Linked DNA regions of Homo sapiens: regions 1, 2, 3, 4, 6 and 7 are each linked to region 5. Evidence: promoter capture Hi-C in 16 types of primary human blood cells and fetal thymus (Javierre and others, 2016). All regions are on one chromosome and are shown on one strand. Each heading gives the region's core, a stretch centred on a gene start or on the middle of the fragment in contact. The rest is flanking DNA. Distances are from core to core; before and after follow the strand shown. Region 1 has its middle 41 kb from the start of SLAMF6. Region 2 overlaps CD244 (CD244 molecule). Region 3 overlaps SLAMF6 (SLAM family member 6). Region 4 overlaps LOC105371467 (a long non-coding RNA gene). Region 5 holds the start of SLAMF1 (signaling lymphocytic activation molecule family member 1). Region 6 overlaps LOC105371466 (a long non-coding RNA gene). Region 7 has its middle 4.9 kb from the start of CD244.

The links. The method cuts DNA at HindIII sites, captures the fragments that hold promoters and counts their contacts. A CHiCAGO score of 5 or more calls a contact.
Region 1: a contact is called between a fragment that was not itself captured here and the fragment with the promoter of SLAMF1 in region 5, in 2 of 17 cell types (non-activated CD4 T cells and total CD8 T cells). The highest score is 6.6, in non-activated CD4 T cells.
Region 2: a fragment that was not itself captured here is called in contact with the fragment with the promoter of SLAMF1 in region 5 in 4 of 17 cell types (fetal thymus, non-activated CD4 T cells, total CD8 T cells and 1 more); the score reaches 9.2 in fetal thymus.
Region 3: a fragment that was not itself captured here is called in contact with the fragment with the promoter of SLAMF1 in region 5 in 7 of 17 cell types (non-activated CD4 T cells, activated CD4 T cells, naive CD8 T cells and 4 more); the score reaches 11.5 in non-activated CD4 T cells.
Region 4: a fragment that was not itself captured here is called in contact with the fragment with the promoter of SLAMF1 in region 5 in 15 of 17 cell types (non-activated CD4 T cells, activated CD4 T cells, total CD4 T cells and 12 more); the score reaches 20.6 in non-activated CD4 T cells.
Region 6: a fragment that was not itself captured here is called in contact with the fragment with the promoter of SLAMF1 in region 5 in 12 of 17 cell types (fetal thymus, activated CD4 T cells, total B cells and 9 more); the score reaches 11.5 in fetal thymus.
Region 7: a fragment that was not itself captured here is called in contact with the fragment with the promoter of SLAMF1 in region 5 in 2 of 17 cell types (total CD4 T cells and naive CD8 T cells); the score reaches 5.6 in total CD4 T cells.

The regions. Positions count from the first base shown.
Region 1 is chr1:160,480,657-160,483,594 of GRCh38, reverse strand. No RefSeq gene overlaps it. Among named protein-coding and RNA genes, the nearest start is that of SLAMF6, 41 kb to the left of the region's middle. The HindIII fragment of the contact is 308 bases long and covers 1,373-1,680 here.
Region 2 is chr1:160,840,430-160,843,423 of GRCh38, reverse strand. It overlaps CD244 (CD244 molecule), which reads left to right. Exons shown (of 9, transcript NM_016382.4): 2 at 1,523-1,840; 3 at 1,939-2,214. Among named protein-coding and RNA genes, the nearest start is that of CD244, 21 kb to the left of the region's middle. The HindIII fragment of the contact is 2,302 bases long and covers 143-2,444 here.
Region 3 is chr1:160,501,454-160,504,606 of GRCh38, reverse strand. All of the region lies in intron 1 of SLAMF6 (SLAM family member 6), which reads left to right. Among named protein-coding and RNA genes, the nearest start is that of SLAMF6, 20 kb to the left of the region's middle. The HindIII fragment of the contact is 1,017 bases long and covers 1,277-2,293 here.
Region 4 is chr1:160,433,335-160,436,628 of GRCh38, reverse strand. All of the region lies in intron 2 of LOC105371467 (a long non-coding RNA gene), which reads left to right. Among named protein-coding and RNA genes, the nearest start is that of VANGL2, 34 kb to the right of the region's middle. The HindIII fragment of the contact is 3,442 bases long and covers 1-3,056 here.
Region 5 is chr1:160,645,486-160,648,782 of GRCh38, reverse strand. SLAMF1 (signaling lymphocytic activation molecule family member 1) reads left to right here and starts at 1,739. Exons shown (of 7, transcript NM_003037.5): 1 at 1,739-1,913. The coding sequence starts at 1,838. It overlaps LOC107985220 (a long non-coding RNA gene), which reads right to left and starts at 1,774. Exons shown (of 2, transcript XR_001738266.2): 1 at 1,448-1,774; 2 at 1-1,310. RefSeq lists enhancers at 1,608-1,657, 1,698-1,907. The HindIII fragment of the contact is 11,196 bases long and covers 1-1,767 here.
Region 6 is chr1:160,395,786-160,398,704 of GRCh38, reverse strand. All of the region lies in intron 3 of LOC105371466 (a long non-coding RNA gene), which reads left to right. Among named protein-coding and RNA genes, the nearest start is that of VANGL2, 3.3 kb to the left of the region's middle. The HindIII fragment of the contact is 683 bases long and covers 1,082-1,764 here.
Region 7 is chr1:160,866,167-160,869,447 of GRCh38, reverse strand. No RefSeq gene overlaps it. Among named protein-coding and RNA genes, the nearest start is that of CD244, 4.9 kb to the right of the region's middle. The HindIII fragment of the contact is 3,347 bases long and covers 1-2,968 here.

The DNA of each region.
Region 1 (2,938 bases), core at 277-2,776, 160 kb after region 5:
AATGGTTCCCAAACACATCTTTAGTCCTGACCTCCTGGCTTACCTCATTAACTGCCTACTTGGCATCACCATTTGCATATCTGGTAGATATATCAAAGTTTTTTAAAAAATAAAAACTCTTGGGCAGATGTGGTGGCTCATGCCTGTAATCCCAGCACTTTGGGAGGCCGAGGCAGGTGGCTCACTTGAAGTCAGGAGTTCGAGACCAGTCTGGCCAACATGGTGAAACCCGGTCTCTACTAAAAATACAAAAATTAGCCGGGTGTGATGTTGGGTGCCTGTAATCCCAGGTACTCAGGAGGCTGAGGCAGGAGAATCACTTGAAACCAGGAGGCGGAGGTTGCAGTGAGCCAAGATCATGCCACTGCACTCCAGCCTGGGCAACAGAGTGAGACTCTGTCAAAAAAAAAAAATCAAACCTCTTGATTTCTCTTATCAAGCCTTTTCTTCTACTATGCTTTTTCATATCAGTAAATGGTATCATTGTTATGGGACACTCTTGAACAGATCTCCTTTACAAAACTGAAAACTACCCAGTACTCACCATATAACTAATCATTTTTGTTTTCTTGTGGGAAACAAATGGATTTAATCAACAAAAACCTAATCTATTGTTCTAAAGTTAAATACATTAAGACCCAGATGCCCCATTCCTAAAAGATGAATCATGCATTTTGCAAGCAGGGAAGAAAACATGCAATGCTTATAAAATTCCTACCAAAAAACAAACTTTCTTTGCCCAGGAGGTAAGCTTGTTCTTTAATATTTTTATTGTAGAATTAAGGAAATGGTAGCCCCATTAAACTACTTTGAATAAGGTAAGATGGCTGTGATTGGCTATCCTGGAAAGGTAATAAAAGGGAATAGAAATACTCTTCCCACTCTGCCAGCCCCCAGTCATTCCCACTAGGAGGTCACAAAGTGTTGACAAGGCCTACAAGACCCCTACTCACATCTCTACTCCTTCTTTCACAGCATTCCAGCCACACTGTTCTTTATTCAGCTCCTAGAATAATCTAGACTCTCCTTCCTACTTCTGTGCCTTATGGATACTGGGACCACATCCCTATGAGGCAACAATTAGCTGGTGCTGAGTAGCCTCTGTTCTATTCTAAATGGGGCTTGCACTTCACATTTCACTCCTGGCCTGCCCTGCCTGCTTCACTCACTTAAGATACCTACCTAGTACTGAAAATAGTTAAGTTTCCAACCTCTTACCTACACCATGAAGCTTTGCCCCACATCATGTTGGTCAAAAGAGCACATTAACTAGTCCCAAAATAACAATGTCTGATCTCACTTGTCCACACCCCATCCCACCCTCAAGCCAACACCTGAACCCCGTGTAGCTTTAGGACACTTACTTGAAGCTTTCATCATTTAGCCTCCCTCAGGGTTCAGTGTATACTTTGATATGAGGAAGCAGGGCCACAGCTAGATGCAGAACAGAGAGAAGGCTACCCTGTCCAAGGTCACTGGATAGACATTTCACCCTGAGTTTCAAGTTGATGAAAAGAATGGACTAAGAAGTGACTTCTCAAATGGGGAGGGAGCAAGTCTGACCCCCTGAATTTCCCCTTCCCAGAGGCCATCTAAAAGCACTCTCTGTGGGAAGAAAGGAAGGGGACATCATCACTGACCTTTTACTACCAGACGACTAGAATGGCCACATCCAAAGCTTTTGCTTCCTCACCCCTAGCCCACTCTTCTGAAGCTGCATTCTTGAAGGATACCAACCTCTAGAGGCAGGGATCTTTTCTCTGCATTCTGGTGCTCTCTGCAGCATTTGACATTACACAATCCCCCCATCACCCTTGAGGTTTCCCTCCTTTTAATGCCCATTAAGTCACCTCATCCTACTTTTGTCTTTCTGTCTCCTCCTTACCTCTCCTTAGCTTGGTTTCTCTTATTATTTATGTCCCATAATTAGATTTGTTTCCCTAGGTTCTGCTGACTGGATATTTTCCTGGATGTCTCGTAATCACCTTAAATTCTGTTTTTCATTCTCCCTTTGACTTCTAATGACCCAAGGAAAGTAGAACATCCCTCTCAGGATCCAACAACAATCCAAAACACAAGGTGAATTCATGGCAACTTAAAACACAAGGTGAATTCATGGCAATTTAAGACACAGGAGGAAATAGAGGGGCAGCCAAGATGGCCGAATAGGAACAGCTCCAGTCTACAGCTCACAGCGTGAGCAATGCAGAAGACAGGTGATTTCTGCATTTCCAACTGAGGTACCGGGTTCATCTCACTGGGTAGTGCTGGACAGTGGGTGCAGGACAGTGGGTGCAGCGCACCGTGCATGAGCCAAAGCAGGGCGAGGCATGGCCTCACCCAGGAAGTACAAGGGGTCAGGGAATTCCCTTTCCTAGTCAAAGAAAGGGGTGACAGACGGCACCTGGAAAATCGGGTCACTCCCACCCTAATACTGCACTTTTCCAACGGGCTTAACAAACCGCACACCAGGAGATTATATCCCACACATGGTTTGGACGGTCCTACGCCCACAGAGCCTCACTCATTGCTATCACAGCAGTCTGAGATCAAACTGCAAGGTGGCAGTAAGGCTGGGGGAGGTGTGCCCACCATTGCCGAGGCTTGAGTAAGTAAACAAAGCAGCCAGGAAGCTCGAACTGGGTGGAGCCCACCACAGCTCAAAAAGGCCTGCCTGCCTCTGTAGGCTCCACCTCTGGGGGCATGGCACAGACAAACAAAAGGCAGCAGTAACCTCTGCAGACTTAAATGTCCCTGTCTGACAGCTTTGAAGAGAATAGTGGTTCTCCCAGCATGCAGCGTGTGATCTGAAAACAGGCAGACTGCCTCCTCAAGTGGGTCCCTGACCCCTGAGTAGCCTAACTGGGAGGCACTCCCCCAGTAGGGGCAGACTGACACCTCACACGGCTGGGTACTCCTCTAACACAAAACTTTCAGA
Region 2 (2,994 bases), core at 44-2,543, 200 kb before region 5:
AGTAATGATTTTTTCCATTCACCTTTGTTCTCAGGGTCTTTGTGCAATATTTGGTAGGTTGACTTGTTCTTATAAATAGTGCTAGGATCGTAGGAGACAGAGACACAGAGATGCACAGCACAGTCTCTGCTTTTGAGAAGCTTTTGGTTTGCTAATGGGCAGAGCCAGTACAAGTCATATAAATATAAATGGGAACCTATGTGTTTTAGTCTTAGGAGCATCAAGATCAAAGAAACATATTTCATCAAACAAATAGTATTACAAGTCCTTTAATTATTTACTTAGTCTCTTGAGAAAATGCCAGGGTGAAGCTGTGGCTTGGAGAGACTGCATTCATAATGCACTGGACATATAAAAACCCCTCTGTCTCAATTGCTCTCTTCTTAATAGCCTCCATTTTAACGGAGCCACTTGTAAAACTCTCCCCATCTCTTATTTTCTCTTCCAAATCCTCCCTGAGCCTCCCCAACTCACCCAGAGAGACTTTTTAATTTCCTGCACCTGCTGGGCCATGCCACATAGCTTTATTACTAAAAATGGCTGTAGGAACTTCCAGTTTTGTACACTGACTGCACAGAATTGCTCTAGGTTGTCACACCCCCATATTCATTAGGTTTCATCTTGATTCTTTGAGAGGCAAGTGCTGGGATCTGCCTGGGAAGTGTAGTTTTATTTTTAAAATTGTTTTCTAGGGAGAAATTTTTGTGGAGACTTTCTGATCACTGAAAAACTGGCAAACATCAATAAGTAATGACCAAAATCCAATGAACCAAGTGCCACGAGAGAGGATTATGTATTCAGCTCTGTGAGAGGATGGTTGAGGGGCCATGAGTTCAGCTTGGACGGTTAGTCTTCCTGGGCCTGACCATTCAGAATTTCCAACAGTCACTACTTGCCATTAGTAGTTGCCTCAGCACTGCTTGGAGGGAGTCACCTTAGATGTGGTATTTATAGCATCATGGTTAAGAATTTATCCTCTCAAGCCAAACTGCTGTCTTTACAAAGAGTAAACAAATAAGCTCCCTAGCACCTGTGCTCCCAGCTACTAGGGAGGTTGAGATGGGAGGATCACCTCAAGCCCAGGAGTTCAAGGCTGCAGTGAGCTGTGATTGCGCCACTGCACTCCAGCCTGGGTGACAGAGTGAGACCCTGTCTCTAGAAAACAAAACAAAAGAAAACAAAAACATAACACCAAACTGACTAGGTTTCAGGCTCATCATTCTTTTAACTCATCATACCTTTTAACTTAAATAGTTAAAATGTATAAAGTGTGAAACCTGCCTGTCACATAGTAAGTACTCAAGATTTTAGCTATTGGTCTATGGGATCCCTCAGACTAGGGACACAGAGCTTGGGGACAAGGGGAGGCAGATGGAGGGGATATGCTTTAAGGTGCTCCTAGGTTCTGGGCTCCTCATACTCATCCCCACCCAATTGGCTTAAGGGAAGTCACATCCAGCTGCCCACATTGCTCAGGCCTGACACTCTTCCCGCTACTTTCAGCTTGGGTTCTCTTTCCTAGGATGCCAGGGATCAGCTGACCATGTGGTTAGCATCTCGGGAGTGCCTCTTCAGTTACAACCAAACAGCATACAGACGAAGGTTGACAGCATTGCATGGAAGAAGTTGCTGCCCTCACAAAATGGATTTCATCACATATTGAAGTGGGAGAATGGCTCTTTGCCTTCCAATACTTCCAATGATAGATTCAGTTTTATAGTCAAGAACTTGAGTCTTCTCATCAAGGCAGCTCAGCAGCAGGACAGTGGCCTCTACTGCCTGGAGGTCACCAGTATATCTGGAAAAGTTCAGACAGCCACGTTCCAGGTTTTTGTATTTGGTAAGTCTCCAGGACTGTTCATACTGCCCTCTCTGATTCCTATAGGCCTCTAAGTTCTGTATTTCCAATGCCTTTCTGATCAGAATCTCTGCTTCCAGATAAAGTTGAGAAACCCCGCCTACAGGGGCAGGGGAAGATCCTGGACAGAGGGAGATGCCAAGTGGCTCTGTCTTGCTTGGTCTCCAGGGATGGCAATGTGTCCTATGCTTGGTACAGAGGGAGCAAGCTGATCCAGACAGCAGGGAACCTCACCTACCTGGACGAGGAGGTTGACATTAATGGCACTCACACATATACCTGCAATGTCAGCAATCCTGTTAGCTGGGAAAGCCACACCCTGAATCTCACTCAGGACTGTCAGAATGCCCATCAGGGTAAGTGGAACACACTGGGCTATAACAAGCGCTGAAGGTTTGGACCCCGCAACCAGGCTCATGTGCAAGACAGATGTGGTATGAGATAAAATCCCTTGGCCTCCTCTCCCAGTGCCTTGTAGCCCTTCCCAGGGTAGCCCTGGCCTCCAGGCACACAGTTCCTGTAAAGCTAGGCCTATCCTACTCTGGAAAAAAATGTTATCCCTATTTCCTTCTGGGAGATGCAAGCTTTTCTTCTGCAGAGGGAGGGCATAGTTGTTTGGTGAGTGACAGTCCTGAAATGGCTCCTGAACATTATTTTCTTCCTGGGAGAGGCTGATGGAGAACTGTCCTCTCCTCTTGAGTGATAACTTTCTCCAAGCCACATAGTTCAAGAGGTAACTACACTGTGCAGCAGTAGCCTGGAGCAGGAGCATCAGGATGACCCCAGGGATACCTAGATGAGTTCTTGGGCTGTTGCTTATGCTCATCCTAAGAGTTACCTGAGTTACCGTTCCACAACTTTTTATTACATAAACAGGGACTTAATGTACCAGCAGCATGGGCATTATAGGAAAAAAAAACCATACAGCTCTCATTCATAAGGAACTTATAGCCAAATGGGGCAACAAAAATAACTACTTGTGGACAAAAAAGAAACAAGACTGAGGCAGGCCGGGCGCAGTGGCTCCCTGTAATCCCAGCACTTTGGGAGGCTGAGGTGGGTGGATCACAAGGTCAGGAGTTTGAGACCAGCCTGGCCAACATGGTGAAACCCTGTCTCTACTAAAAATACAAAAA
Region 3 (3,153 bases), core at 536-3,035, 140 kb after region 5:
TCCTCAGTTTTTTAGGGAGCATCCAGATAGTTGAAAACAGACAAATACAATTCTTTCAGAACCAGTTCTGCTCTATGCCTGCTGGAACCAGTGACCATGGTCTCCTACTGAAAATGTAGACGGCTGTCTTCAAGACTGCTATCAAGTTGGAGAAAAAAGATCGGGGAAAGGGCAATCAAACATTCTGCAAAGCTCCCCAATGATTTTTTTTTAATTGTGTATATCTAAGCTGTACAACATGACATTTTGATATATGCAGTGAAATGGTTACCCTAGTCATGCAAATTAACATATTCATTATCTTGCACTGTTACCCTTTTTGTGCAAGTATGGTAAGAGTATCTAAAATCTACTCTGAGCAAATGTTCGGTATACAATACAATAATATAAGTATAGCCTTCATGTTGTATATTAGATTCCTAGACTTATTTACCCTACATATCTGCAACTTTGTACCCTGTGACCTACATCTCCCCATTTCCTCTCTGTTCCCTCTCTCCACCTCTGATAACCACTGCTTTATACTTTGTTTCTATGTATTTGGCTTTTTTTAACTCCTTTTTTTCTTTTGCTTTTTTTTTTTTTTTTTGAGATAGAGTCTCACTCTGTCACCCAGGCTGGAGTGCAATGGCATGATCTCAGCTCACTGCAACCTCTGCCTCCCAGGTTTAAACAATCCTCCCCAGCTGGGACTACAGGCATGTTCCACTCTGCCTGGCTGATATTTTTGTATTTTCAGTAGAGACAGGGTTTCACCATGTTGGCCAGACTAGAACTCCTAGCATTTTTAAGTTGCCTCTTTTTTTGACCCATCATTTGTTTGGTTGCTATAAACCTTTGACTAGTTTCTACAGTTCTGACAAAGTTGATTCTGACAATGTTTGCTCACTCTGTGTGTGTTCGCATGAGTGTGCATGTTTTTTGTGGAGGGATGGACCCTTGCAGTTATTTATTGTGCCATTTTGACTAATGTCACTGACCCTCAGACTTTAGGCCAGCAATTTCAACAAAGTAGTCACCATTCCCCTGAAATCCCTCTCCCCTTTGATGCCACACCTACCTATACTATGCCTATTGCTAATATTAGGTGATCCCCAGCACCTTCTTTCCCTGTTCCTGGGCTACAAGTGCTATAATCATTGGAGAAAGTTATTAGTGTGGTGCAAAAGTGATTGCGGATTTTCCCATTGAAGGTAATGGCAAAATCCGCAATCACTTTCGCACCAGCCAATGCAAAACTGGATGGACTCCATGAATGGTGCGTGTCAACCAAGCTTGGCCAATTCCTCCTCACTGCTTCCACACTCATTTATTGATGACTTGTCAGTTTCCTAACAAATTCCTCATAGCAGCTTTTACATGTCTCATCCGTCTTCCTCTAGATTCTATGAGATCTACTTCTCTTAGAACAACTTTGAGAAAAACATAAGCGAAATATTCCAACTTCTTCCCCTTTACCCTCTAAATCTTTTGAGATCTTTAACCTTATTCTTTTCAGTCTCAAAAGAAAAGGAGAACCACGTCTACCCAAGACTAACCTCTTCACTTATGCTCCTAAGCCCACCCTGGCTTCCTCCTCAGAAATGACACCGTTTTGAATACTCCCTTTCACCATATCTTAAGTTTTTTCTTTTTCTCCCAGCTGCTTCCCTTTGCTCCAAATTTGCTCAGGACTCTGTTACCTAAAGAGTAACTTCCATTTGTCCTACCTTCTCAATATCCTGACTATGTTTCTCCTCCCTTCTCTTTAAATTCTCTTGAGAAATCAGCCCCTACTCTCTTTCATACTGCATTTGCCTCCTGTGGAGCTAACACAGCTTGCTATATTCCTGTTAGCTATAGATGGGCCTAAGCTAGTCCCTCAGGTTAGAAACCCAAAGTTCCTTGACTTTTCTCTCTTTTTCAGAATCTGCTTAGTTCTACCTCTCTCCTCTCTTTCCTAAGACACTGCTCTCTTTATACTTTGCCAATTTTCAAAAATACTTCATGTTTTTTAATACCTTCCAAACTAACCCTCCACTAATCAGGTAACCCTTAAAAACTTCTCTATTCTAATTCCAATCTACTTAACATTCACTGAGTTCCCTGGACCAGGTTATGGGGAAATACAATGCTGACTAAGATATTATTTGAGTTCCCCAAAACACATCATACAGTAGATGAAACTTGTAAACAAATGTACCCCAAATGTCTGCTGTCTTGACATCCTCACCAGTGGATGGGCAAGACCTCAGCATCACCTTCATGTTGCAAGGAGTTCCCCAGTGACTTATGAGAGTCTCAAAGGAAAGCTTCCCATGAGTCCCCAAAGCAGCCTACGAGTTGTAGCCAACATGAGGCATCTTTCCCATTCTTAATCTCCTTTTCTGGTTCTAGTCCCCCACACAGGATGCCAGCAGAGCCATTTAGATGCCCTGCTTATTCCAAGAACATCAATGTCCATGCCAAGGGTGCTGGTCCCGGATGCTCCCAAAGCATCAGTGTTGATTCCTGGCAGAGCAGAGAAAAGGACCTCCATGTGCCCTCTGGGCCACACCACAACACCTTGGCCCTGAAGCAGCTCTGCTCCTGTCCAAAGTCTCATGCAGGGTCTTTTAAACATTTTCAGTAGCATCTGACCTTCACTGTCCCTAAGCATATTGTCTCAAATCTAGTTTTGCTTTGGTTTGGTTTTGGGTCTGTGGGGAACTATTCCTACCATCTCATCCATCCTGTGCTCCTTCTCCCTTTGCTTCACCACAAACTCCTTTCTCCCCTTCCCCATGTACCAATGCAAAACCCCCATAAATATAAGAGGCAAACAGATATTTTAGCTCATCCTTGAAGGATAAATAGGAGCTTACCATGTAGGAAAGATGAAGAAAGGCATTTTAAGCAGAGGGAAAAGCAGTGCAAAAAAAAAAAAAAAGCAAGGCATTATTGGAAGAATTACAAATAATTAAGTAATGGAGAACTCATAGCTTTTATTCAAGACTTTGCTACAGTGTCATCTCCTGTGAACTGTTCCCTGACAACTCCCAACTCTTCCCAGTTCATGATTCTCTAAATTTTTGCTCCCATGGAGCACATATCTCTAACAATTCAACATTTATTGAGCTAGAAATTGTGTGCTAAGTTCTAGGAATATAGAAATAATAATCAGAATCCCTGACC
Region 4 (3,294 bases), core at 86-2,585, 210 kb after region 5:
GTATCCATCATCTCAAGCATTTATTTATCATTTATTTGTGTTAAGAACATTCCAATTCCCCTATTTTAGTTATTTTTAAATATACAATAAATTGTTGTTAACTACAGTCACCTTATTGTGCTACCAAATACTACAACTTATTCATTCTATTTAACTGTACTGTTATATCCATTAACCACTCCCTGTTTATCCCCCTGTACCTACTATTCTCCCCAGCTTCTGGTAAACATCATTCTAGTCTCTCTCTCCATAACTTCAATTTTTTTTAGCTCCCATATGTGAATGAGTACATGTGATGTTTGTCTTTTTGTGCCTGGCTTATTTTACTTAATATAATGTCCTCCAGTTCCATCCATATCGTTGCAAATAACAGAATTCCATTGTATATATGTACCACATTTCCTTTATGCATTCCTCCATTGATGGACATTTAGGTTGCTTCCATATCTTGGTTATGGTAAATAGTACTGCCATAAACATGGGAGTGCAGACATCTCTTCGAAATACTGATTTCCTTTCTTTGGGCGTACACCCAGCAGTGGGATTGTTGGATCATATAGTAGTTCTGTTTTTAGTTATTTGAGGAACCTCCATACTGTTCTCCATAGTGGCTGTACTAATTGACATTCCCACCAACAGTGTACAAGCATTCCCCTTGCTATACATCCTTGCTAGCCTTCTCAAGAAATCTTTTGACAACTTCCAAGGTCCAATTACTTTGACACTCAATTTTTAGACAGCAATTTCTTGGATAGAGTTTGGTTATTGAAGAGAATGAGGAAGCTCTTCCCAGTCAAAAAGATGTTGTGCCCCATCCTTTATTTCAAGGAAACCTTTCCTGACAACCTTGGTCAGTTTCCTACTGTAAGATCCCATAGTCCCCTATACTTCATCACTACATTCATCACCTTTGAAATTAAGTGATTACTATCTGAGAACAAAGACTATGTCCATGTTATTCAGTGCCATGCCACCAATACCTAGCATAGCTCCTGGCACATAGAAGGTGCTCAACAAATATTGGTTAAATGACAGAATGAGTGAAAAACAGTAAACACAGATAAGACAGTTTCCAGCAACATTTAACTACAAGGTCGTTAAGATCTTGAAGTTTGTACAGTGACCACCACTTGGGCAAAGAAACTTGAGAACATATTTCTAAATTATTGATATATGATGCTACCTACAATTATTGAAATATGGTGTTACTTTTGTGAAAGGAAAATAAATCTTGGGGCCCCAAAATCACTAACCTAAATGGAAAAGTCAAGCGAGGAACTGCTTAAGGCAAACCTGCCTCCCATTCTATTCAAAGTCACCCCTCTTCTCACTGAGATAAATGCATATCTGAGTGCCTCCTTCGGAGAGGCTAATCAAAAATTCAACAGAATGCAACCATTTGTCTCTTATCTACCTATGACCTGGAAGCCCCCCTCCTCACTTCGAGTTGCCCCACCGTTGCTTCAAGTTGTCCTGCCTTTTCCAGACCAAACCAATGTTCATCTTACATACATTGACTAATGTCTCATCTCTCCCTAAAATGTATAAAATCAAACTGTATTCTGACCACCTTGGGCACAGGTCATCATGACCTGAGGCTGTGTCATGGGCATGTGTCCTCAACCTTGGAAAAATAAAGTTTCTAAATTAACTGAGACATGTCTCAGATATTCAAGGATCACACTTTCATTCTATACCCATAGCAATTAATGCAAATATTGAAGTACATTAAGTCACCTTATCTGAAACTATCTAAATATGGTAAAACTCATGAATTTCCTCTGTTCTATTGGTCATTGATATGGTTTGGCTGAGTCCCCACCCAAATCTCATCTTAAATTTTTGTTCCCGTAATCCTCATGTGTCATGGGAGAGACCAGACGGAGATAATTGAATCGTGGGGGTGGTTACCCTCATGCTGTTCTCATGATAGTGAGTTCTCACAAGATCTGATGGTTTGATAAGGGGCTGCCCCCTTCAGTTGGCACTCACTTCTCTCACCTGCCGCCATGTAAGACATGCCTGTTTTGCCTTCTGTCATGATTGTAAGTTTCCTGAGGTTTCCCTAGTCATGAGGAACTGTGAGTCAATTAAACCTCTTTTCTTTATAAATTATCCAGTCTTGAGTATATCTTCATAGCAGCATGAAAACAGACTAATACAGTAAATTGGTACAACAGAGAGTGGGGTACTGCTATAAGGATATCCAATTATGTGGAAGTGACTTTGGAACTGGGTAACAGGCACACGTTAAAACAGTTTGGAGGGCTCAGAAGAAGACAGGAAACTTTGGAACTTCCTAGAGACTTGGAGGGCTCAGAAGACAGGAAAATGTGGGAAAGGTTGGAAGTTCCTAGAGACTTTTTGAATGGCTTTGACCAAAATGCTGATAGTGATATGGACAATGAAGTCCAGGCTGAGGTGGTCTCAAATGGAGATGAGGAACTTGTTAAGAACTGAAGTAAATGTCACTCTTGCAACGCAAAGAGACTGGCAGCATTTTGGCTCTCATTCCCTCTCCTGCCACAAAGTGAAGAAGGATGTGTTTGCTTCCCCTTCCACCAGAATTGCAAGTTTCCTGAGGCCTCCCCAGCCATGAGAAACTGAGTCAATTAAACCAGTTTCGGGTATTTCTTCATAGCAGCATGAGAATAGACTAATACAGTCATGTTGGCAAAAAAATTTCTAGCCAAAGATAATTTATATTGGAAACTGCTCCTTCAATTTCTATGGCCTTTAGTGATAAGATCTCATTTTGGCCCTTTTTTTGTGTCATTATTAACGTCTCATGGATCAGTTAAGTTGCATACTGAACTGCTTTTGTATAAACTCCACACGTAAGGCCTATCTCACAACATATCATTTAAGATTCTCATAAAATCACAATTTGATACAGGTGGCACAATTTTATAGCATGAGCAACAATGACCTTACCAAACTATTTATTACATTCATAAAATTTAGACCTCTTAACAATTTTGATCTCTTGCATCAATTATCTTAGAGTTAAGTAAGGCGTGTTTAGGACCCTCAAATTTTCAGGGGTATATTAAGCTTCTTTTAGGGCCTTGCTGCTCAAAATAAGGTCTGTAGAACATCAGCAGCAGCACCTGGTGCTTTATACTGTGTTGCCCCAGAATGCATATGTTGAAGCCTAACCCCCAATTTGATGTTATTTGGAAATGCGGCCTTTGGGAGGTAATTAGATTTAGATGAGGTTATGAGACTAGGGCCCTCGTGATGGAATTAGTGCCCTTATAAGAAGAGACATAAGAAACCTCGCTCTCTCACTCT
Region 5 (3,297 bases), core at 490-2,989:
ACACTTCCAGTATCCCATTCTTATAGTTTAACTCATGAAAAAGGGCGGGATCCTCCTTCTGCCAATACTAGTTCCTTCTCCTCAATGAAAAGTTAGACACAAACTCCAAAATAAAGGCAACTCCCAGAATACAACACAGCCCCAATTAAATTAAAATGGCTTTTATCCAAAAGACAGGTAATAACAAATGCTGACAAGGATGTGGAGAAAAAGTACCCTTGTACACTGTTGTTGGGAATATAAGTTAGTACAACCACTGTGGAGAATGGTTTGAAGGTTCCTCAAAAAACTAAAAATAGAGCTACCATATGATCCACAATCTCACTGGTAGGTATACACCTAAAAGAAAAGAAATCAGTATATTGAAGAGATATCTGTACTCCCATGTTTATTACAGCACTATTCACAATAGCCAAGGTTGGAAGCGACCTAAGCGTCTATCACCGATGAGTGGATAAAGAAAATGTGGTACATATACACAATGAAGTACTATTCAGCTAAAAAAGAATTAGATCCTGTCATTCACAATGACATGGATGGAATTGAAGATCATTATGTTACGTGAAATAAGCCAGGCACAGACAGACAAACTTTGCACGTTCTCACTTGCTTGTGAGAGGTAAAAATTAAAACAATTGAACTTGTGGGCATAGAGAGTAGAAGGATGGTTACCAGAGGCTGAAGGGTAGTGGGGGTTGGGGAAGAAGTGGGGATGGTTAATGGGTACAAAAAAATAGAAAGAATGAATAAGAACTAGTATTTGATAATACAACAGTGTGACTATAGTCAATAATAATTTAATTGCACATTTAAAAATAAAAATATAATTGCACTGTTTGTAACACAAAGGATAAATATTTGAGGTGATGGATATCCCATTTACCCTGTGTGATTATTACATATTGCATGCCTCTATCAACATATCTCATATACCCCATACAAATATATGCATACCCCATACATATATATATACATACACACACACACACACACACACACACACACACACACACACACACATATATGTATATCTACTATGTACCCACAGACGTTAAAAATTAGAGGAGAAAACACACACACAACAAGGAGACTGAGCTGGAAGGATGGAGCTCTGGGATAGATTTGTCCTACATCCCTGCCTGGGAGGGAATCCACACACATGCAAGAAGACAAACTAGGAGCATGGGCTACTAAATTATACCACATTGCACTCATCGGGGTCACAGGGTTTCTTCCAAGTGACCCGCACATGCCCTTCCCATCTCTGTGTGACAGTGGCACCTGCACCAGACTGCATGTTGAGGTGTCATCTGAAATTATGAAATAAAACAGAAGTAAGAGGTCTATTAGCTCATCAAAATGCAGTTATCTAAGTTCAGCTGTGAACTGCCAAATTTGAGGAGTGATCCAATGAAACATCTTTTCTTTGCAATCCAAGAAGACTTACCGGAGAGAACTGCTCAGAGAATCTGCAACATCCGGTTCCTGGAGACAGCTAAGGAAAGAAGCTGGGGCGCATGTTTCTGCCCAAAGCCGGGTTTTGGCCGAGGTGACTACACACCCCCTTTCCTGGCTCCCATAGGCTAAGTGCCTGGCTTCTTGAGAAGCCTGCTTCTTGAGAACAAAAAAGTGATTTAAAGCCTCATGGGAGATGAGCAATCCTCAAGACACAAGCAGAAAAAGTCCCAGTGATACAGGAAGCGGGTTCAGGAACCTGCTGGTTCCTGATACATAAATCAGACAGCCTCTGCTGCATGACACGAAGCTTGCTTCTGCCTGGCATCTGTGAGCAGCTGCCAGGCTCCGGCCAGGATCCCTTCCTTCTCCTCATTGGCTGATGGATCCCAAGGGGCTCCTCTCCTTGACCTTCGTGCTGTTTCTCTCCCTGGCTTTTGGGGCAAGCTACGGAACAGGTGAGTGTTCATCTGCCTGATGGTTTGAGTCCCATGTTAGCTGCCAGGAATCAGCGTATCTTCGTGGATGGAGAGAAGGTGCAGGGCTGGGTATTGTGTTTGGTCACTCTTCCTTAGGGACTGGCTGTCAGTTTCAACTGCCTCTTTCAAAGAGGAAGGAACATTATAAGTTCCTGGGCCCTTGGGTTTCCAAGACTCAGCCCCACCAACCCCAGTTTCCAAGGAAATGAGGGGCTCTAAGCCAAAGGCTCCAGTCACTTTTCTGACCAGTCTTAGGGTGACAGGCCCTGGTAGAAGTCTTGCTTGAGTGGTTGGTTTTACATGGGCATCTTCTGGCAAAGACCCAGCCTAGAGAGACTGAGCTGGATGGACTGAGCTCTGGGAGAAGATTTGCCCTACATCCCTGCCCTGGGAGGGAATCTGTGCACATGCAGGCTGACAAACCAGGAGCATGGGTCAACAGAAAGCATTGGCTAGAGTGGGAAGAGAGAGTAGAAGTGAAAACTCCAGGCTTTTGGCTGAGAACCAGCAGTGGCCACAGTGCGGTCATACTGGTGTGTATTTTCTTGGAAGAGAAGGTCCAAGAAAGCAAGAGGGAAGAAGTTGGGATTTCTGAAGGCTAGGGCTGGTTACAGTATGTGGGAAATGCAAATTGGGAACCCTCAGAGAGTAGCTCCAGCAGGAAGGCCAGACAAGAGCTACCTTTGGATCTGGACTCTGTTCCTGTCTTTCTGTCTATCTTCTTCCCAAGGCAGGCTATTGCTTTCTGTTTAGAAGTATCAGGGCTATGAGAAAAGGTATTTGAGAAAGAAAAAGCCAAGCAAGAAGTGGACTTTGGACTGCCTGTGTGAGTGGGGTGAGAATCTCCTTCTGCTTATTTGTTTAGACTGTGGGAGGTAGCCTGGAGTAGAAGAGGTGGCATTACGGACACGGGGGGAAATCCTGAGGCCCAGGGTGTTTTAAGCTTGGGGTTTTCAAGACCGCAAATCCAATATGGACTTTTCCAGGAAAAGCACCGTGATATGCCAGGGATGTGGGGGTGCTGCACAATGGATGTGTCTTTTACCAGACAGCCAGACGAACAGGGCTTGCTCAGCCCACTTTCTTTTGGAATCTGCAGATCCATGGCTCGTACTTCCCAAGGTCTAGGGGAGGAAGAACTGAGCTCGGGGCTCAGAAAACCAAATCGAGCCACTTTAAGTGGTCACAGGGAAAGCCAAGCCTCCGTTGTTGCAACCAATTTGTGACTGCACCATTTCTGGAGCACCTCTTGGTGACTGTAAGGTGTGATGGAGTGATGGTGCTGAACTGTGAACTGGACTTTTCCATCTCTGTGCTTGCTAGCCTCTTGGCCAGCCTGGCCCATAGCATCTTAGGCACTGCT
Region 6 (2,919 bases), core at 174-2,673, 250 kb after region 5:
CAGAATTACAGATAATTCCATAGTCTGGCCCCACTGAAAGCTTGAAACCTAAGTCAGGATGTTAACAGACAAGGCTTCCCAATTAACAGGTATCAGGCATCAGGCTAGAATAAGCTTAGTCCCTCCTTTCTCTGACGGTGAGGTTGGGGGCTTTCAATTACATCTCTGCAATGAAAACACTGGATTACAGAGTCCAACAAAAAATTTTATTGGTGTGGTCTGTCCCATTCAGCAATTCTCTGTATTACCTTCTACCTTCACCTCAGGATAGAATCCCATCTGGATTTCACACGTCCCCAAGTCACTGAGTAAGCAAACAGAGACCCAGCTAGAAGGCCCATGTGCCCTATGGTCTAAGGGACCTAGCTTAATTCTTTAGAAGGAAGGAGAGCACTGAAATGACATTCAACTGAGATTTTCCTAAAGGGGCCAACCTACAATAACAGAGGGAGGCCAAGAGCCTGAGGGACAATAGAATGGAACAGATTGGATTTTGTACAGCTCCTGTCCTTGAGGACATAGTCGAATTTCTTAATTTCTTCAAGCCTCAATTTCTGCTTATATAAAAAGGGTCTAATGAGGTAACAGAAGGAACACCCTCCATATACTCATAGTGCCACAGTCAATTCCCAGTCGAGTTTCCCCTCTCTGTTCTGTGCCTAGGATACTTCTCTTAGGAGAGAACACTTCTCTAGGACACTTCTTTCAGTACTCTTCCTCGGGGAAGGAGGCCCCTAGCTAAAAGCCAGGGCCCTCCATTAAAGCCCTTTCAACACCTCACCAGCTCACTAGGTGGAGGTGGGGCTGGTGGGGTCAGATCAGAGGCTTCCCAGGAGCCCTGGGAGTTGGACCCTCCTGGGGAAGATTCAAGGAACTCAAGAAGTGACAGTAGACTCTCTCTGAGGGAAGGTCCAGACTATAGAGAAGCACCTACCTACTTCCTGTGTGGATGAAGCTGTCCCTGGAGGTCAGGCCCAGACCACAGTAGCAAAAGTTAGGTTTTCTGCTCTGATGAAAAGTAGGGCCTTTTTACAATGCTGCTCAGAGAAAGGGAATCCTTGGTACCTTACTCATAGAAGCTTCACACTATAGCAGAATGGCCATCAAAGTGTTTCCATGTAAGCAATTAGCAATTTTAGCCACCTCCCAGGTACAGGTGACTGCAGTAATGTACCCACATGCAGGGCCACAATCACCATCTACTTCCAGCCCTGCTGATGAGCCTGGGTACAAGTTGATCTCCCGGAATAGTTACAGATCTTTCCCCAGCACCCACCTTCCCAGAAAGGCTACTCTCAATGCTCACAAAAGGATTTCCAGACCCAGTCTATATTGGGAAATACCTGGGTTCTGGGTGTGAGGGGTTTCCCCCTTCACTTTTAGTTAAAAAAAAAAAAAAAAAAGAATAAAAGTAGCTCACACACAAAAAAACTTAACTGGTCAAGAACTGTATTATGTCATAGGCTTGTGGTGAAGTGTCTGTCATGTGAGATCCTGATCTCTAAGAAGAAGGACCATGCCTCATTCATTTCTATATCTCTGGCACATAAAATTCAATAAGTTAGCATTAGCTGCCTTCCCTTCTAGCTTCCTTCTCTTTCTCCCTTCCTCATCTATGAAACCTTGACCACTCCCTATTCATCCAACCTTTATTAAGTGTGAGTTTCCTCAAATCCAATCCCATTATCATTAATCTAAAATGTTACCTGCAATTAAACCAGTGGTTGTGAACTTTGACTGCAGATTTTAATCACCTGGGAAGCTTTGAAAACACATCAATGCCCAGGACCATCCCAGACTAATTAAACCAGAAACTTCTGAGGTGTGACCCAGCTATTGGCATTTTTTTTAAGATACCTCAGTGATTTTAATGTGAGAACCACTGAATGAAACTTTCTGATTTCCTTCCTCCTTCTTGGGAAGAATAGACACTCTCCAGCTCCCTTGGCTGGGACTAGGCCCTGCAGGTGTGCGTTATATCCTGTCCTTTCCCACCTCCATCCATTATTCACAATCTCTCCTGTAACCAACTTCGGCCTCTTCACTGATCTTTGCCCAGCAGACATAATAAAATGAAATACCTTCCTCCACTCAGCAGCCTCCTCTTGCTTTAGCCTTCGCTTTTATTTCTTTCTCATCCAACCTTCTTAAAAGAGTAGATTCTTAGGCCAGGCCTGGTGGCTCACACCTGTAATCCCAGCACTTTGGGAGGCTGAGGCGGGTGGATCACCTGAGGTCGAGAATTAGAGACCAGCCTGACCAACATGGAGAAACCCCGTCTCTACTGAAAATACAAAATTAGCCGGTCATGGTGGCAGGTGCTTGTAATCCCAGCTACTCGGGAGGCTGAGGCAGGAGAATCGCTTGAACCCAGGAGGAGGAGGTTGCGGTGAGCCGAGTTCGTGCCATTGCACGCCAGCCTGGGCAACAAGAGTGAAACTCCATCTCAAAAAAAAAAAAAAAAAAAAAAAATGGATAGATTCTTTACTATCTCTCTTCCTCCCTTCACTCCTCAGCTCCTTGCACCCCAGCCATCCTTCCAATGTGTTTTCTACTCCTGACTTCAAATACTATTATTTCCCAGAATTCAGCCTTTGGCCCCCTTACTCCCCACTCCACATGCTTTTCCAAAGCAATGTCATTCACTCCTGTGGCTTCAGTCAGTACTCACTTATGAGTGCTGCTAAATCCAGGTCTATCTTGTGAGCATAAGACTCAAATTTTCAACTTCCTACCATACATTTTAACTTGGATATTCCTTGGGTATCTTAAATGTAATAGGTTTAAAAGGAACAACATTATCTTCCTTCCACCTCTATCCCCTTGGCTTATTCAGACCTTTATCATTTCCAAACATGTCTCATTCCCTTCCAATCCGTCTTCCTCCCATGTTGCCAATGTGATTTTTATGAAAGGGAA
Region 7 (3,281 bases), core at 46-2,545, 220 kb before region 5:
AAAGGCTTCAGCCTGACAGTGACACTTTCTGCTTACATTGCTTGGCCAGAGCAAGACACATGGTCCTGTTTAACTCCAAAGAGAAGTGCAGCCTTCCATGTCCCCACCCTGCCCCAAAAGAGGAGAATTGTATCAGAGTGAACAACACTAATGATTACCTGAAAGGTTTCATGATGAGGTGGTATTAGTGGTCTTTCTTTGTGGTTGTAACAAGCAGCCAGAGACGCATGGCAGCTAGGTCAGCTCCCTCTCTCACTCTCCTTCTACCCCCGTCCACCTCTCTCTCACCTTCCTTTGTTTCACAATGCAATGGACGCTTATCATGACACAACCCAACAACTAGAATATTATTATTAATCTACACCTACCTCTGTGTTCCTCTATGTCACTCCATCCCTCCCTTCTTCCTTAGTTGTTGCCATTATCTCAATTTGTGGTTAAGATCCTATTGCTTAAGCTACTTTTTAACAATCATGCACACACATCATGCAGATGCCCAAATAATATGTTTAATTTTTTGTTTTTAAACTATATAAAAATACTATCATATTGTATATTGTCTTCTGGTGCTTATTTTTTCCTATGACATTATGTAACTACTGTTCTCCTGTGCTGTCCCACATTCATTTTTGATGCTATTGAATTTACATTGTATGAATAGATCACATCTTGTTTTTCCACTCTCCCATTGCCATTTGTTTTGTCTCCAGTTTTTTTTCCAATAAAAAACAATGCTGTTATGCACATTGTCATATGTGTCTCCAGGTATATATGTGCTAAACTGTCTCTTATATGTAGGTATATAACTAGATGTCATATTGCTGGATCATTAGAGTTTATAAATATTTTACTTTACAAGATAACACCAATTTATTTCCACAGAATTGTACCAATTTACATTCCCATCAGCTGTATATAATTGATCCAATTGATCCATATGCCCTCAAATACTTGGTATTACCAGACTTCTTTATTTTTGCCCATTAAATTCTTGAACTCAGCCGCCCAAAATGTTAAGATTACAGGTGTGAGTCATCGCACCTGGCCAGAGGCAACTTCTTAGCAGGAGAGGGTATGCCAGAAAAACCCAGAGAGCTTCACATGAAAATCATGTAGGGAGGTCAGTTAGCACACGGATAGGGGAAGAAGAAGAGGAACTCTTAGAGAACAGGAAGCCAGTTTTAGGTTCTTCATCTTCTATAATCTCATATGTGAATGTGTGGGCCCATGCAACCTGTGTGGTAGGTTCAGTGACACATAGAATCAGGGAAACTCTCAGCACTGATGAGGATTCTACATGAGGGATAAACAGCAATGTGAAATAGAATAAAATAGCAATGTGATGTAGAATAAAATACTCCACAGTAAAGTTTTGTCATGTCAAAACAATTTCATGGTCAATTATGGATATTCAAACCACTAAAATAACAATTTGGTTGTAAGTTGTATTGGTCTGTTTTCACTCTGCTGATAAAGACAGACCCAAGACTGGGAAGAAAAAGAAGTTTAATTGGACTTACAGTTCCACATGGCCGGGGAGGCCTCACAATCATGGTGGGAGGTGAAAGGTACTTCTTACATGGTGGCAGCAAGAGAAAATGAGGAAGGAGCAAAGTGGAAACCCTGATAAACCTGTCAGATCTCGTGAGTCTTATTCACTATCACGAGACTAGCACAGGAAAGACCCTCCCCTATGATTCAGTTACCTCCCCCTGGGTCCCTCCCACAGCACGTGGGAATTCTGGGAGATACAATTCAAGTTGAGATTTTGGTGGGGACACAGCCAAACCATATCATAAGTTTATCTGATTACACCACTAAACTTTGATCACATTCATTTCTTTCTAGGTGTCAACGTAGCACAGAAAAATTAAAAGAGAACATTGGCTTGCACAAATGACTTTATCATTATAACCCCAATTTTGATTTTCTGTATTTGTAATTCACAAACTAGATAAAATTCACAAACTAGATGGTAGGGCACTTAGAAGTCATTATGTTTTTTTTTTTTTAATTGCAAAACACTTGGTCTACTAATATGTCAAACATAAAAATCTCAGAATATAATTTCATACTAAATCAGATTCTGATTTATACAATGTAATAAAAGATACAAATGTATAAGACAAATTTATATTTAATTATCTTTAAATAGGAGGCTAAATAGGAGGCTATTCTATGGTGCATTTCCCTTGCAATTTGGGAAAACTTTTTTGTACCTTTTTCACGTAGAAACATTTTGTTCCAACACAGGGAAGCAGAGATTGATTCCATTTCCCACACCACATTGCTAGTGTCAGAGAGATAGCCTGCGGTTCTCTGCATCGTCAGAGCTGTTTCTCACACTGAATCTGGGAATGGCAAATTTCTTGTTATGTTGAATTCTGAGATGAGTTAAGACATGGATTGCACTCTTTAGCCTTTGCTCCTGTGGATGTGGGTTCTCTGCGTTATCTGATGTCCCATAAATTGTTTTGAGAGGCTCTGTCTTCCATCTTCTTTATGAGACTGTTGCATCTCTTACCTTTAACCTGAACCTGAAAGTTATCACAGCCAATAAATAAACAATAACTGGCTACTTCTCTTCCAACAAGTGAAAGCCCACAGAAGATAAATGTACATAGAAGGGAAAGCGATTTTCTAGCCCTTCTGAGAAAAAGAGACAGAAAAAGAGATTGTGCTTATTAAAAGTGTCGTTATGGTTTCATTCAAACAGGAACACAGACAATATTCAGATGGTTAGAAATAAAGGCAATGAGTTCTCATTTAGTGTCTGGTGTTACAGAAGTTATTTATTGAATTCTTGCAAGATTGGTTGACTATACCTATAAGATCAGTTGGGCTCTTTGTGAATGGTTCATCTTTGACAACTTTAACAACTTCTTTCCAGTGGTGCAGTAAAGGATTAACCTTGTTCAAAGAGAGGCCCAACCTTTGCCCTTGGCTCCTGGGAGGTAATCTCTAAGCTTTGAAATGTCCTGCTTGATAAGAGTATCTTCATTACTGGGGACCTTGTTAGCATTGTCAATGCTTATAATGTGATTTATGGTGGGAGCTCTGACCACATAGCATCAACTCAATTTCTGGAGGGGCCAGAGACTATGGTCAGCCACATGGGTGGTCAGCCATGTCTATGTGAGCAAGTCCCAATAAAAATTCTGGACACCAAGACTTGGAAGAGCTTCCCTGCTTAACAATATTCTCTGTGTGTATTGTCACACATAGTTTCTGGGAGAAGTAGGCCCTGTCTGCACAGCTCCACTGGGAGAGGAGAACTGGAA